Regions from separate parts of the Homo sapiens genome. Here all the other regions are linked to region 3. Evidence: promoter capture Hi-C in 16 types of primary human blood cells and fetal thymus (Javierre and others, 2016). All regions are on one chromosome and are shown on one strand. Each heading gives the region's core, a stretch centred on a gene start or on the middle of the fragment in contact. The rest is flanking DNA. Distances are from core to core; before and after follow the strand shown. Region 1 has its middle 11 kb from the start of ZNF268. Region 2 overlaps ZNF268 (zinc finger protein 268). Region 3 holds the start of ZNF891 (zinc finger protein 891).

Region 1 (3,627 bases), core at 708-3,207, 41 kb after region 3:
TGAGCCGAGATCTTGCCACTGCACTCTAACCCGGGCAACAGAGCGAGACTCCGTCTCAAAAAAAAAAACAGAGGAAAAAAGAAAAAAATTATTTTCACAGAATTGTGCAACCATCTCTATGATTTAATTTTAGGGCCTGCCGTGGTGGCTCACGCCTGTAATCCCAGAAATTTGGGAAACCGAGATGGGTGGATCACCTGGGGTCAGGAGTTCGAGACCAGCCTGGCCAACATGGTGAAACCCTGTCTCTACTAAAAATACACACACACACACACACACACACACACACACACACAGTCGGGCATGGTGGCACACCTATAATCCCAGCTACTCAGGAGGCTGAGGCAGGAGAATCGCTTGAACCTGGGAGCTGGAGGTTGCTGTGAGCTGAGATAGCACCACTGCACTCCAGCCTAGGTGACAGAGTGAGATTCTGTCTCCAAAAAAAAATTAATTTTTAGAACATTTTCATATACCCCCTCCCCAAAACTTCATATCCATTAGTAATCAGACTAGGCAACCAATAAGCTACTGTTTCTACAGATTTGCCTTCTGAGAACATTTCATGTAAATAGTATCATGCAATATGTGGTCTTATAAGACTTGCTTCTTCCATTCAGTATAATGTTTTGAGGTTTATTTGCTCAGGCATGTACCAGTACTTAAGTCCTTTTTTGCTTAATAGTGTTACATTGTATAGATATGTCTCATTTTGTTTTTCAAACATTAGTTGTTGGATATTTGGGTTGTTCCCACTTTTTGGCTATTATGAATAATGCTTCTGGTAACATTTATGTACATGTCTTTGTGTGAACATTTCTGTTTGTTTTTTTTTAAGAGATGGAAGTCTCACTCTGTCACTCATGCTGGAGTGCAATGGTGTAATCATAGCTCGCTGAAACCTCGAACTCCTGGGCTCAAGCAATCCTCCGCCACCTCAGCCACCCAAGTAGCTGGGACTACAGGCATGTCACCATACCTGAATATCTTTTCCCTTATCTTGGGTAATGAGCTTTGCTAAAGAGCACTTTGGGAGCCTGAGGCTGGAGGATCACTTGAGGCCAGGAGTTTGAGACCATCCTTGGCAACGTGGTGAGACTGTATCTCTCCAAAAAAAAAAAAAAAAGTCAGGCATGGTGGTGCATACCTGTAGTCTTAGTTACTTGGGAGGCTGAGGTGAGAGGATCACTTGAGCCCAGGAGTTTGAGGTTACCTTGAGCTATGATTATACCACTGCACTTCATCTGGGGCAACAGAGCAAGATCATGTTCCTAAAAATAAAAATAAAATATAATATAATATATAAAATTTTTTAAAGCCTGATTTTTTTTAAAGCCTGACATACTTTTTTTTAAAGAGACACCCAGGCTGGAGTACTGTGGCATGATCATAGCTCACTGCAGCCTCAAACTCCTGGCTCAAAGGATCCTCCTGCCTCAGCCTCCTGAGTAGCTGGGACTACGGGTATGCACCCCCACCCCAGCTAATTTAAACAAATTTTTTTTAGAGATGAGGTCTTCTCAAATTGTCCAAAGTGCTTTGGTGGCATTAGCCACCACACCCAGCCTAGTTGACGTACTTAATCTACCTGAGATTTATTTTAAATATATTGTGAGACAGCCATCTTTATTTATATTATTATATAGCTACCTTGTTGTTCCTATACAGTTTATTGAAAAGTTTATCTTTTCCATAATGACTTTTCCCCTAATATTTTCTTATGAAAAATTTCAAACTTACAGAAGAGTTTAAATAATTTTACAGTAAACACTGATATTTCCAATTTTAAGCGGTTATCTACTGTGTTGAAATTTGCACTGATGGTACAAAACGATGGTGGGTAAAACTGCTGGCACTTCAGCATCAATCAAGGTAATAGCAAAAAAAGATATTTATTAGCAGCCATTGTATTCTTCATCACTACACGTTCATAGTTTTGTTTGTTTGTTTGAGACAGGGTCTAGCTCTGTTGCCTAGGTTGGAGTGCAGTAGCATGATCATAGCTCACTGCCGCCTCAAACTCCTGGGCTCAAGCAGTCTTCCTGCCTCAGTCTCCTGAGTAGCTAGAACTGTAGGTGTTCACCACCGTACCTGGGTAATTTTATTTTATTTAGAGATGGGGTCTCGCTATGTTATCCAGGCTGGTCTCATACTGCTGGCCTCATGTGATCCTCCCACCTCAGCCTCCCAAGTAGCTGGGATTACAGAGATGAGCCTCTCCACCCAGATTTGTATTTTTTAAAGGAAGTCAATTTAACTTTAGGATGTCTTTGATAAAGCAGTAAAGAGTCATTTTATTAAATATCAACTCTTAAATACATCTCTTTTTTTTTTGAGATGGAGTCTCGCTCTGTCGCACAGGCTGGAGTGCAGTGGCGCGATCTCGGCTCACTGCAAGCTCTGCCTCCTGGGTTCACACCATTCTCCTGCCTCAGCCTCCCGAGTAGCTGGAACTACAGGCGCCCGCCACCACGCCCAGCTAATTTTTTTGTATTTTTAGTAGAGACGGGGTTTCACCGTGTTAGCCAGGATGGTCTCAAACTCCTGACCTCATGATCTGCCTGCCTCGGCGTTCTTAAGTGCTGGGATTACAGGCGTGAGCCACCACGCCTGGCCTAAATACATCTCTTTTTAATATCTGTGCAATGAACGTTCTGTGCTGTATACTGAAGTTCCACAGTTGTCTCAAGAAAAAGCATTTGTGTGATTATTTACATTGAGAGGTGAACTTTACATTGGGAGCTGAACTTTGCATTAAAGAAGGACTGAGAAACCTTTGCAGGTATTCTCTCAAAAATCAACCAAGTAAACTTGTCACTTAAAGGAAGGCAAATGACAGGGTTTTATTATTTATTTATTTATTGGTCAATATAAAAGTAGAATTTTCAAGAGAAAAATACAATTTTGGTTTTCTTTCCCCAAGATGGCTGACTAGAGGCTTTTTCAGTTCACCTTATCCACTTCTATGAACCAAACTAGTGTCTGGGCAATCACACTTTGAACATATTATCCAAGAGGGAACATAGGAGTTCAAAAGAAAAGCAAAGGGAATCTCCAGAATCTGGGGAAGAGAAGGAGGGCAGGCAGCCTGCAGGGCTGCAATTGGCCAAAAACTGGGAGTGAATCCCTGATATGGGAGAGGGTAACTGAGTGCCTTTCTGTGGTTCATTTTCCCTCTAGGGAATTGTGCAATCCAGGCCACAGGAGAGCACCTTGATCCTCCTGAGCCCTGGATCTAACTTGGGAGCAGTCAGTAGACTGTGAGGAAGAGCTGCTTTGGGAAGTATCCCATGAACTCCTCTAGACCTGGGCGTCTACAATAATAGGATGTTATTCTCAATCCTAGCTCTTATAAAGCTGTACTGAGTCCAGGGAGCTAGCAGTGGCATCAGTTGACTGTGTTAGAGACTCATGCTGGGACTCAGGGAACTGGGGCTCAAGTTGGTGAGGGACTCCTACAGCCAGAATGGAGAATCAAGTCTGGTGTGTGCTCCAGCTGCTGGCACTTGAACTGGGCTGTCCCCACCTTCTGACTGGAGCAGGGGGAGAACTTCTGGGGAGGCATGGTATTGAGCCAGGCAATGACTCCTATTGCCTGGGGCTGCATTGCAGAATAGAAGGAAACTG
Region 2 (3,454 bases), core at 379-2,878, 63 kb after region 3:
TGTATTTCAGGGACCTTTGTCATTCATGGATGTGTTTGTGGATTTTACCTGGGAGGAGTGGCAGCTGCTAGACCCAGCACAGAAGTGCCTGTACAGGAGTGTGATGTTGGAGAACTATAGCAACCTGGTGTCCCTAGGTAAGTGCTGCCTCCCTGAGGAGGAGTGTGCTCGATCTCCAGGCTTCTTCTTGGTTGCTGAAAACTGGAGGGCTTCTATGAAATACTTAGTGATTTTGGACTTAGATTTTAAGGCCAGATTTTCTTAGTTCCCTATTGGCAGCAGAGTATGCCAGTTGAATGGTCTTTACTTTGCCAAATTGCAAAAAGGCAGCTTCATCATGCTACCTCCAAACCAAATCTTTCCCGTTCTTCAGAATCTCTGAATCTCAAGCTGTTTGTTCCAGGTTGTCTGTGATTTTTCTATTTATAGGGTACCAACACACCAAACCTGATATCATCTTCAAGTTGGAACAAGGAGAAGAGCTGTGTATGGTGCAGGCCCAAGTTCCAAATCAGACCTGTCCAAGTGAGTGATGGAGACAAATCTTTTCTTCTTTATTTAGAATTAGCATGAATTCCAATGTGATGTGCTCCTCTTGTTTGTACTTTGCCTCGTGTATTACCATGCACTTTTTTTTTTTTTTTTTTGAGACAGAGTTTCACTTTGTTGCCCAGGCTGGGGTGCAGTGGCGTGATCTCGGCTCGCTGCATCCTCTGCCTCCTGGGTTCAAGCAATTCTTCCGTGTCAGCCTCCTGAGTAGCTGGGGTTACAGTTGTGCGCCACCATGCCCGGCCAATTTTTGTATTTTTAGTAGAGATGGGGTTTTGCCGTGTTGGCCAGTCTAGTCTCGAACTCCTGACCTCAGGTGATCCGCCTGCCTTAGTCTCCTAAAGTGCTGGGATTACAGGCGTGAGCCAGCGTGCCCGGCCTTACCATCCACTCTTAATCTTCTCGTTGGCACCCTTATTTCCCTCCTTACTCTATCTTGGTGATAGACTCATTTCATTGTGCATTTTAGCAAGCCTTTCCTCTTTCCTTCACTTGATGTGACTCTCATGATCCTTCCCTTTCCTTTCTACATTTTGAAAATTACATTTAAATCCCTTACACATAAATTCAACAACCACAGTCCCATCTTCCTTCTTTTTGAAACCTGTTAGTAGATTCTACCCCTTTTGTGCTTCTCTATGCTAATGGATTTTTTTTTTTGAGACGGAGTCTCATTCTGTCGCCCAGGCTGGAGTGCAGGGGTGCAATCTCGGCTCACTGCAAGCTCTGCCTCCCGGGTCTCCTGCTTCAGCCTTCCAAGTAGCTGGGACTACAGGCACCTGCCACCACGCCCGGCTAATTTCTTGTATTTTTTGTAGATACAGGGTTTCACCACATTAGACAGGATGGTCTCGATCTCCTGACTTTGTGATCCGCCCACCTCGGCCTCCCAAAGTGCTAGGATTACAGGTGTCAGGCACCATGCCTGGCCTTGCTAATGGCTTTAACATTATCACTCTATACCTTCTGAGCACATTCCTTTGTCATGTGATAGTGTCCATGATCCTGCAGTGACACCTGTTGATCCTGCTCTTCTGCTGCATGACCGAGCACTTTTTCCCTTCATGTTCCACTGGGCTTCTCTTGCTCTTCTGAATCCAAGGGGTCTTTATTCTTCATTTCCCTCATATAGTGTAACTTTTAAAAGACTTACGCATTAGCTGAGCATGGTGGTGTGCACCTGTTGTCCCAGCTCCTTGGGAGGCTGAGGTGGGAGGATTGCTTGAGCCCATGAATTTGATGCTGCAGTGAACTATGGTTGTGCCACTAGACTCTGGCCTGGGTGATAGTGAGATCTCATCTCAAAAAAAGAAGACTTCTGTCTCAGTCTATTTGTGTTGCTGTAATAAAATACTATAGACTAGGTAATTTTATAAAGCACAGAAATTTATTTCTCACAGTTTTGAAGGCTGGAAAGTCCAAAGCCAAGGTGCTGGCAGGTTTGGTGTCTGGTGAGGGCCTGCTCTGTGCTTCCAAGATGACGCCTTGTTGCTGCATCCTCTGGAGGTGAGGAACACTGTGGGACAGAAAGAGGGGCAAAAAAGGCCTAAGATCATTCCCTCAAGCCCTTTTAGAAACGACTAATCCATTCATGAGGGCACAACTTAATCTTCTCTTAATACCACCACAATGGGGAGTAAGTTTCAACATGAGTTTTAGAGGGGACACATTCAAACCTTAATAACTTCCATTCGGAAGATTGAAGCTCTTTTCCTCTACTGGTAATTGATAGCCATACTGATCTTTTATCTGCCCTTTGGTCCTGGTTTTGATTGATTCACTGGCATCTCCCTCATACCACTCCCTGGCCTCGTTTTCAGAAACTGGAATCGTCTCTCCCACTGCTCCACCTACATACCACCTTCTTTTCATCTTTCTTCTCTTTGTTTATCCTGTTTTTTAAATTCTAAGTTTTTTTTCCTAACACTGGGGAAGTCAGCTTGAATTTCCTTTCTGTGCAGGGCTCCCTTACTAATTTTGGTACAGTGTTGTTAGCATTTTGTTCCTTTAAAAAGAGGTCTTTTAAAACCCTCATCGTCTCAATTCCCACTCAAAACGAGGCCAGTATTGTCATGTCTGGATTGTTGTATTTAGCTAAATTTATTCATTGTACTCTTTTTATATTAATTCATCTTCGATGTTACTGTCAGATATATTTCCCTGAATACCCCATTTATTCTATCACTAGCATGACAGCATAAATCAACAGTTAGTCCTTGCATTACTAGGATTGTTTCAGCTGCAGTTGTTGGTCAATCCCAGACCAACTAATTTAAGCAGAAGTGATTTATTATTACACATCACAAAAGGTCCTGAAGTGGGGCAGCTCCAGGATCAACTAAGTGATTGACTCACTCAATCGCCAAGGGCCCATCTAGGTATGTTGACATTTTCCTTAGGTTACCTTCTTTAATGGCCCTCAGATGGCTCTTGCAGTTCTAGTTGATGCCTGTGGATATACCAGTGGCCAATGAAATAAAAAGGGCTGTTTCTTCACACACGAGTCTGTCAGACAGGAAAACTCATCCCAGGAAGTCCCAAGCAGACTGATCATGTTCAACAGGCTAAATTTTTGTCACATGCCCCTGTCTGAGGGAGGCTCTGGAAAGGGAAATGGGGCTATCTCCGTTGGCTCAGATAAATTATGCTTTACCTTTTGGAAGCGGGACTGGGGATAGAAATGGGTCTTCACTTCCCTGACTGAAGCACATCACCTAGATGGGGGTGGAAAAAAATCAGGTTACTGCCAGCCAGGAACAGGGCAGAAGAACCACTGGGTAAGCAGCACTGTCTGCCTTCACCTTCCTTGGCCAGGCAGCACCTGTCACACCCTTCTTCCCAGCCATCCATCTTCAGATATTTGCTGCAACCCATATGTTGGTTCTTGTACTACATTAATACAAGT
Region 3 (3,421 bases), core at 248-2,747:
GTGAAACTCTGTCTCGAAAAAAAAAAAAAAGTAGAAAAACAGAGACAAAGTAAAAGAAAAATTTAAAAATTAAGAGCAAAACTTACTGTAATAGGACCCCCCTCCCCAAAAAAGACCAAAACAAAACAACAAAAAAACCAAAACCAAATCTACATTTTTGAAAAGACTATGTACACATATACCTTATAGGAGTAATCAAGAAAAAAAGGCCTAGATAATTAGGTTCAAAAAAGAAAAAAATAACAATTACAGCAGTAAAATATTAAAAAGTGGTGATTTTAAAAATCACCATAGAAATTACTTACAGTGATAAAATAGCATGGGCAATTTTATGCCAATAAATTTGAAAAATTAGATTAAAAACAATTATCTAGGAAAGGTATCTAAAACAGAATACGAACTAAAAAACCTAATCAATGAGACTTTTTAAAAAATTGAGTCAGGGCCGGGTGCGGTGGCTCACGCTTGTAATCTCAGCGCTTTGGGAGGCCGAGGCAGGCTGATCACCTGAGGTCGGGAGTTCCAGACCAGCCTGACCAACATGGAGAAACCCCATCTCCACTAAAAATACAGAATTAGCTGGGCGTGGTGGCTCATGTCTGTAATCCCGGCAACTCACAAGACTGAGGCAGAAGAATCACTTGAACCCGGGAGGCGGAGGTTGCTGTGAGCCAAGATGGCGCCATTGCACTCCAGCCTGGGCAACAAAGAGCGAAACTCTGTCTCAAAAAAAAAAAAAAAAAAAATTGAGTCAGAAGTTAAATGCGTACTAAATATTTTAAGACCAAATAGCACCAAACTTTTGGAGGCGGGCGGGGGGCGGTGAGGGGTGGTGACCTGTTTTACAGAATAGAAGAGAGACTGTGCTGTCCAAATTATTCATGAAGCTTGTAAAATCTTGTTAGTATAACGGGCAAGGATAGTACACAAAAAGATTAAAACACAATCTTGTGAGCATAGGTGAAGTCAAAGGGAAACAGCCAATTGAATACACCAGAGTATTAAAGAAATAAAACCATATCGCATTCAACCACAGTATAAGGCAATAGGTGAAAAAAACGATGGCTGTGATTCAACTCATTACTAGGTTTAGAGATTCAAGAGAGGCTGCTGGACAGAGGCGTGCACCCTTTAGCCCTCCCGTGTTGCTTAGAGAAGGAGGCAAACGCGCATCCCCGGCCCCCCAGCGCTCCCTGCGTGGCACCCGCAGCCAGCCCGGGACCCCTCCGCCCCGCGCGCCCCTGGTCCCCACTCGCTCCCCGCGCTCCACTCGCACCCGGTAAGTAGCCCCTCCTCCCTCAAGGGCCTCTCCCACCGCCGCCTCCCGGGCAGGCTCCCTGCTGCTCAGACTCCCGTGAGGCGATCCCTGCACGCAGGAGAACTCAGCGGGCCAGGCTGATCCCACGAGGGACTTGTCCCGGGTGAACGAGCCACAGGCCCGCATGCTCACCCGTCCTCAGTGCCTGCCTCCAGGCGTCCGCGGTCCCGCCCGAGGGGGACGCGAGGCCGAACTACGTTTCCCAGGAGCTCCTGCGCCGCCCCGCAGAGGGGCCTGGTCTGTGCGTCACGGACGCGCTCTGGGCCGAAGGCCCGCAGGGTCCGGCACAGAGTGGCGGCTGCGGCGCCGGCGACGAATCGCCGGCTCTAGGGTCCCGGGGCGCGCGGCTGACGGGCTGGGGGCGGAGCGTGGCCTGAACGCCAGGCTGGGGCGCGTGCGTAACGGTGTGTGTTGTGGGTGCGTGTGCGTGCGTTCGCAGCAGGGGCGGGCGTAGGACCAATGGGGGCGGGGCGCGTGCGCGTGCGTGACGTCAGGCCACGGGGAGGTGGCGCCGCCGTGCCGAGCCGGCCTCAGACTCACCTCTGACGCCGCTCTTCGCGCTCCGCTGGTGAATGGAGTCGCGTTCTCTGTTTTGCTGTTGCTGCTGCCTTTGTGACGGGATCGCTTTCTCCCATCGAACCTTCTAGTTGCTTATTGCAGGTATATACGAAAGTGCTGAATTTTGTGTTTGCATCGTCATCAGGCGCGTGTTGAGCCCTTTAGTAATGTAGCAGTGTATTAGCTTCGTATTTCTAGGTAGACGGTAATTTCGTCAATGAAAAAATTTAACGGTGATCGTCACCCCTTGCCTCAGTCACTTTCTGTCCCTCGCGCGGCCCCGGCGTTCACGGCGGACGTTCTTGTTCTGTGGAGAATAACGGCTGCACCTGGAGATTGACGCAGAGTGGGCGGCGGTGGTGGTAAGTTTGAACCAGATATTTTCAGTAATACAAAATAAGGTTTCTTCTAGTCTAACTTCCATTTTTCCCCCCAGCTGGGATAGATGTTTAAAATTTTGCATATGGCCTTTCTAGTATTTGTTGAAATAGTGACGCCGATTCGTGTGTGGTCTTTTAAAAACAAATCCTGCATCTCTAGCTCTTAGCTTCCTCATCTTTGTTTTGTTTTTTAATCAGATAGATTAACTGAAGGCGTGTTTGTGTGGTTAATCTATTTTTTTTATTTTCAGAGACAGATCATAAGTTTAATTACTATATTTTTATTTTCCCTTGACACTAGATATATATACGCCATCTAACACATAATATGAGTGTCAAAGATAAGGTTAACATCAAGATTTCGTACGTAGATCCCACCCAAAGTGTATGCAGAAGGTGAACAATTTCAATTCCAGCTATACATTAATTGCAGAAAGATACTGTTAATTAAAAAAAAAAAAGTAAAAGGGAAGGCAGGATGTCACCCAGAATGCCAGCCAACAAGTGTTATTAGGTTAGAAATGACTGCAGTTAGGTCTCCGAGAACTGGATAGCACAAATCCTCCCTACCCTTTTGAAAATTACCTCCACACTAACTTTTCTCTTGTGACATAACTAATCTCTTCTGTTTTACTAAAATTGTCCCCCATCTTCCAAAGCCTCTTGGATGGTAAGTTGCACACGCTCCTGCCTCTTTTTGAAAGTTACATTTGTTTTTTGATTACTTCTCTCAGCATGCATTTCTTTAGCTCTTAGTATATGCTAGTCACAAGGGCAGAGATTTGAGATACACATCATAAATTAAATGAGAATTTCTGCTTATCAGTATTTTATATAAGCACTGTCTGGAAATTCTACTTAGGACAATATTTAAGTAGATATGAGGCTTACCTTCTGGAAAAGAGATTACAAAATTATCCTTGTTAATTAATTAACTAATTAAGTCCCCAAAATGAGAAGAGATTCAATTACTATCAATAATTTGTAGTAAAGTGACTGAAAAGGAAATATATAAGCTAATAGATTGATTGCCGTCCTCAACAAGTTAGCACATACTTTTATTTTTAAAAAGTCTTCACAATAGGAAGAAAATAATTTTAGCTAGAAATATATGTGAACTATATGAGAAAAACTTCAAAACCTTACTAGGCAATTCTTACTAGAA

What was found. The method cuts DNA at HindIII sites, captures the fragments that hold promoters and counts their contacts. A CHiCAGO score of 5 or more calls a contact.
Region 1: a contact is called between a fragment that was not itself captured here and the fragment with the promoter of ZNF891 in region 3, in 1 of 17 cell types (erythroblasts). The highest score is 5.6, in erythroblasts.
Region 2: a contact is called between a fragment that was not itself captured here and the fragment with the promoter of ZNF891 in region 3, in 6 of 17 cell types (naive CD8 T cells, total CD4 T cells, naive CD4 T cells and 3 more). The highest score is 7.0, in naive CD8 T cells.

The regions. Positions count from the first base shown.
Region 1 is chr12:133,169,085-133,172,711 of GRCh38, forward strand. No RefSeq gene overlaps it. Among named protein-coding and RNA genes, the nearest start is that of ZNF268, 11 kb to the right of the region's middle. The HindIII fragment of the contact is 7,086 bases long and covers 1-3,627 here.
Region 2 is chr12:133,191,479-133,194,932 of GRCh38, forward strand. ZNF268 (zinc finger protein 268) reads left to right here. Exons shown (of 6, transcript NM_003415.3): 4 at 11-137; 5 at 430-525. Among named protein-coding and RNA genes, the nearest start is that of ZNF268, 12 kb to the left of the region's middle. The HindIII fragment of the contact is 4,524 bases long and covers 1-3,454 here.
Region 3 is chr12:133,128,777-133,132,197 of GRCh38, forward strand. ZNF891 (zinc finger protein 891) reads right to left here and starts at 1,498. Exons shown (of 2, transcript NM_001277291.2): 1 at 1,451-1,498. It overlaps ZNF10 (zinc finger protein 10), which reads left to right and starts at 1,851. Exons shown (of 5, transcript NM_015394.5): 1 at 1,851-1,978. RefSeq lists silencers at 1,114-1,293, 1,664-1,903 and enhancers at 1,954-2,233, 3,316-3,421. The HindIII fragment of the contact is 7,004 bases long and covers 886-3,421 here.